2 separate regions of the Homo sapiens genome follow, and region 2 is linked to region 1. Evidence: promoter capture Hi-C in human tissues and cell types (Jung and others, 2019). All regions are on one chromosome and are shown on one strand. Each heading gives the region's core, a stretch centred on a gene start or on the middle of the fragment in contact. The rest is flanking DNA. Distances are from core to core; before and after follow the strand shown.

Region 1 (2,741 bases), core at 71-2,570:
TTTATTTAAAACAACAAAATAGTATTTTCATCCTGAGATTCTCTACCCATCACATAATATTCATATTCTTTGCATCCAATAGAGGTTTTCTTCTCTGTGGTCTTTAGGGCTACCACTTTCATTGTCTATTCGCTGATGTGGTGGGGGCGGGGCGGGGGGGCGGCGGGGAAGGGCGTTTCCCTGGGTCCTGACCATCAGGGTACCCTGGGGCTCACAAAGTGGGCTTTCTCCCTCGCTGAACGTGCAGTCCAGACAGACAGACAGACACACACACACACACACACACACTTCAGTCGGTCAGGGCAGGGCGTCCCACAGACACACACACACACACACACACACACACACACACACTTCAGTCGGTCAGGGCAGGGCGTCCCCAGACCAGACATTAAAGAGCTTGTGAAGTGAATTATGATTTTGCTCAAGAAAAAAAAAAGTCATCTAACTTATAATAGTGAAGAAAACCCTTTTGGAGCCTACAGTTCCGCAATGATGAAAGGTTTTTTTGTTTTTTTTTCAGTCAGCTCCTGACAGAAGAGGTTCAGTGAGGGCGAACCCCGCCCAGTGGCTCCAACGCCATAGAAGCCAGAAACAAACAACCCCGCCCCTGCGCCGCCCTGACACCCGCTGCCGGGGGCTCCGGCAGAAACTCACCATGTTTTCCCGGGAATGTGTGGGTATCTTTCCAAAACGCCAAAGACCGCGGAGGGTCTTCCCACGCTAACCCTAGGCTGCGCTTTGTTCCCGTTCCCCCTCCCACGTCCCCCAGCTCGCCCAACGCCCCCGCTCTTTTTGGGTGCCTCCTCCTCTCCCGGTCCCCAGAGAACAACGCGAGACAGAAAGTGGCCCCTCAGCATCAGCGAAACCGTGCGCACAGACACGGGGCCCAGCCGGGACGCCCCAGACCCCTCGGTCGCGGCAGACGGGCTGCCCGCGGCCCCCGAAAGTCTCTCGGATAACACAGGCGCCTAGGCGCCGCCTTTGTTCCTCCCCAGCGCTCTGCTGCGCCCTGGGCGCAGTACTGGCCCGGTTCCTGCACCCGCACTGCGGCGGCGGCGGGGCTTGAGGATTTGGGGCTAAGCTAAACCTCACAAAACATACCACCACCCTCGCCCAGAGAGCTTACGAAAGAAAAGAGCTTAAAGGTTTTCCAAGTAGAGCCTGGGGGCGCTGACTCCACCCAACGGCCACAAAGAGCCGAAGCCGATTCTCACCATGGTTGCTGCTTCGCGACTGCCGAGCTGATGGCGGAGACGAAGAGGAGAGGTTGTTGCTTCTTACAGCGCGACTCTTAGGCGGTCGATGTAAGAGAACCTGCGGCACATAGGCGGATGCGGCTCCCTATATACAACTCGGTCACCATGGGGATGGGCCGGGGCCTTTTCCTGTTGGTCCAGACCCCCAATCTGCCCAGAGAAGCCATGACAGGAGACTGGTGATTGGTGCAAGCGACGTGGGATGAGGTAATCTCTCCCCCACCCCTTTTTCTCTAGCATCCGTAGACTGTTTGCATCCTTTAGACAAAGAGACCGTGCAGAAGCAGTCGGCCGAGCATCCATTATGGGGCGGGGTTGGGGAGGGGCGGAAGGAGAAGAAAGGGGACTGGGGTTAGAAGACTTTCTGTTGCTTAAACCTCAAACTGCAGTTAAAATTATCTATGTGAGGTTTTTTCCCCCTACCCTTAATAACAATTTATGTTTAGATTAAATATTTAAAGGAAAATGACTGCCAGCCCCTCCCTCGTAGTATATTAAACTCGACTACATTTTGTTAGGGTTCAACATCTCTAATTGCTTTAAACGTAAAGTGGGAGGGAAAATCGGCATGATGCTCGAAATGGCCTGGGTATATGTGATTTTTTTAATTTAAAAAAAGATTTAGCCATACGGTCATTCCAAATGGTTTCTCAGGTTCAACTAACTTATTTTCAGAGCTTCTTCTGCAGGCACACGCACACCCGAATAGCTAAACAAAACTGGAAGATGGAAAGAATAACCATATTAAATAAAGAAGCGAACAAATAGTTCTAACATGGCAATAATCAAGAGCAAGTGAACGTAGAGTAGTTATAATGGTTTACTAGAGGTATTCTTTTATGAGAAGTCTATGTAACACATTTTGTATGGTACATTGTCCTTTGGAATGAATCATCTTTCCTGATAGAAAATTGGGAAAATACAAGGAGAAATAATTGAGCTCAGAAGTTAGTACTACATGTGTGCAGTTACATATCTGAATTGGACTTTTGTCTGGAAAGTAACAAGCAAAATAATAGTAATAACCAATACACCAAATTAAAAAGAAGAAGAGAATAATATAATGTAAAAAGAATTTTGCAATGTCGCCTCCATCCACAGACAACTGTGAAACATCAGCTCAATAAACGCATTTCCTTTTTATGTAGTTCTTATGTCAATTTGGTAAATATCCTCCTGCGAGTGGGCTTCTAACTGTGGGAATTTTAGCCGGCCTCACACCCTTGCTGTTCAGCTAGAGACTCTGGTGGTTGCTCAGTTGTCCCTTGGGACAAAAAGGCTTTGCTTTCACCCCTAGGAAATAAATTGGAGTAAAATTATCTTGATATTTAGGAAGCCTCCATTCTCAGCAACGATCCGGAGTAAGTCACTGGACTTCGTACCACTGGATGTTGGTGATGAAATTTCAGAGGTAAATAAGTTTGGCCACTAAAGTTGAAAATTTATTTTTTACAAATAATTTTTCCTTTTGGTTTTCAGAGA
Region 2 (2,741 bases), core at 127-2,626, 64 kb after region 1:
GGAATGAAGGATGAATGCATGCTACCATATAGATTAAACTCCAGAATATGATGCTAGGTGGCAGAAACCAGATGCACAGGTTAGGATGTTTTTGCTCTGTAAGGCATTAACCAGTTTTGTATCTATCTATAAATTTTATTCTAATAAAATTTTAAGTGTCTTTCCTAATAAAATATGTAAATTCCTGCTCTTCAAGTGCTCTTTTCACCAGCTTGACCATTTTACTGCTTCCTTTAGTTAATAAAACTTGATGTTTATTCTATATTTGTATGACAGTCATAATCTTAACTTTTTCAAAATTATATTTTAACATGGAAGACATAGCAGTAGGGGCTTGTGGACATTCTTTTCTGACTGCTTCTATTTTCTCAGTGAATAAGGGTGAAAAGTCATGAACTGAGAGTGAGAATAGGGAGAAGCTTTGGGGGAAGTTGAGGGCAGTGAAGAAGATATTACAAAAAGACTTTTAGAGCCTGGCCAACATGGCGAAACCCCATCTCTACTAAAAATACAAAAATTGGCTGGGCACGGTGGCTCACACCTGTAATCCCAGCACTTTGGGAGGCCGAGGCGGGTGGATCACGAGGTCAGGAGATCGAGACCATCCTCACTAACATGGTGAAACCCCGTCTCTACTGAAAAAATACAAAAGATTAGCCAGGCATGGTGGCGGGCGCCTGTAGTCCCAGCTACTCGGGAGGCTGAGGCAGGAGAATCACTTGAACCCGGGAGGCGGAGGTTGCGGTGAGCCGAGATCATGCCATTGCACTCCAGCCTGGGGCAACAAGAGGGAGACTCCATCACAAAACAGAAACAAAAACAAAAATTAGTCAAGTGTGGTAGGCCTCTGTAATCCCAGCCACTTGGGGAGGCTGAGGCAGGAGAATTCCTTGAACCCGGGAGGTGGAGGTTGCAGTGAGCCAAGATTGCAGCACCACTGCACTCCAGCCTGGGTAGCAGAGCCAGACCCTATCTTAAAAAAAAAAAAAAAAAAAAAGACTTTCAGGAGAGTGGGAAAGTGAAAAATTAAGGGAAATTCCGGATGACTGCTGAGCAATATAAACCCGCTGGAGGTTAGTAGTCATGAACTTTAAATGGAACTCTCGGCATACCACAGCCATGCCTGCAGGCATGGAGTAGGCAGAGTTAGATTTAATCAGGTTATTCGGTTTTGCTAAGTGAGCACAAACAAGAAAATAAAGCATGAGAGTTGGTAGGTGTAAGCTACGGTGGAAGCTATGGAAGGAGACCTGAGGATGTAGCGGAATAGAGGACAGTGCACACGTGGGCGTGTCAATGTCTTGTAAGTCCCAGTTAGGTAGAAGGGTTGTGGGTACTGGTTTCGTAGAGCTAAAAAGTGGGAGGTTGTGGTTGGACGGTGGGATGCTTAAAATTGAAATCATGAAGGGAGGGGGCGTGGGGAGGGGATACTCATTTTATTTTTGAGAGAGGGTTTCACTCTTGCCCAGGCTGGAGTGCAGTGGCACCAACATGGCTAACTTGAGCTCTTGGGCTCAAGCGATCCTCCCACCTCAGCCTCCCCAGTAGCTGGGACTACAGGCATGTACCACCACACCATGCTAATTTTAAATTTTTTTGTAGGGACAGGGTCTCACTATGTCGTCCAAGCTGGTCTTGAATTCCTGGACTCAAGCGATCTTCCTGCTTCTGCCTCCCAAAGTGGCCTATAATTTTATTTGAACAGTAACTCAAACTGGTACTGAAACTAGAGTTCAGTCCCAATTTGTCTAAACAAAAGAAAGTGAAGGGTCAAGAAAAAGGGTTAAATTATGAAGCAAGATCCCAGAGACTGTGAGCAGGAATACAGAACTGGGGCACAGGTGGATAGGACTAGTATTAATAAAATCAGGGACGGGGAGCCCTACAGAGATAGAAGACAGGATAAAAGCAGGAAGGGGAGCCGGGTGCGGTGACTTACGCCTGTAATCCCAGCAGTTTGGGAGGCCGAGGCAGGCGGATCACCTGAGGTCGGGATTTCGAGACCAGCCTGACCAACACGGAGAAACCCCGTCTCTACTAAAAATACCAAATTAGCCGGGCGTGGTGGCGCATGCCTGTAATCCCAGCTACTCGGGAGGCTGAGGCAGGAGAATCGCTTGAACCCGGGAGCTGGAGGTTGCGGTGAGCCAAGATCATGCCATTGCACTCTAGCCTGGGCAACAAGAGTGAAACTCCATCTCAAGAAGAGAAAAGAAAAAATTAGCCGAGTGTCGTGGTGCACGCCTGTAATCCCAGCTACTCAGGAGGCTGAGGCAGAGAATCACTTGAACTTGGGAAGTGGAAGCTGCATCATTGAACCGAGATCATGCCACTGCACTCCAGCCTGGGCAACAGAGCGAGGCTCCATCTAAACAAAAAAAAAAAAAAAAAAAAAAAACGGGAAATGAATTGTCAAATGAGGATATATATAGGGTGAGGTATGGAAGGCTCCTGAGTGCAGCAGCTTCTGTCCTTTGAGTGTAGTGGAGCTGGGGTGCACAACCCTCCTGCAAGTGGATATGTTCTTGTTTACCAGTTTGGAACTCTGGGAACCCGGTAGTTTAGGGATTTTTATGGAGGCTTCATCACGTAGGCATGATCAGTTTTTAACTCAATCCCTAGTCCTTCTCCCCTCCCTGGAGGATGGGGGATGTGGCTAAATTTTCAAGCTTCTAGTCATGACTTTGTCTTTCTGGTGACCAGACCCTATCCTGAAGCTATCCAGCAAGACACCAAGAGAC

The links. The method cuts DNA at HindIII sites, captures the fragments that hold promoters and counts their contacts. A contact is called where the count stands out against the background at its distance.
Region 2: a fragment that was not itself captured here is called in contact with the fragment with the promoter of TUBA1A in region 1 in 4 of the 25 tissues and cell types used here (bladder, heart right ventricle, mesenchymal stem cells and 1 more).

Annotation. Positions count from the first base shown.
Region 1 is chr12:49,187,760-49,190,500 of GRCh38, forward strand. TUBA1A (tubulin alpha 1a) reads right to left here and starts at 1,321. Exons shown (of 4, transcript NM_006009.4): 1 at 1,218-1,321. The coding sequence starts at 1,220. RefSeq lists enhancers at 1,000-1,591, 1,090-1,209. The HindIII fragment of the contact is 17,236 bases long and covers 1-2,741 here.
Region 2 is chr12:49,252,111-49,254,851 of GRCh38, forward strand. It overlaps a transcript of TUBA1C not described here. Among named protein-coding and RNA genes, the nearest start is that of TUBA1C, 12 kb to the right of the region's middle. The HindIII fragment of the contact is 5,325 bases long and covers 1-2,741 here.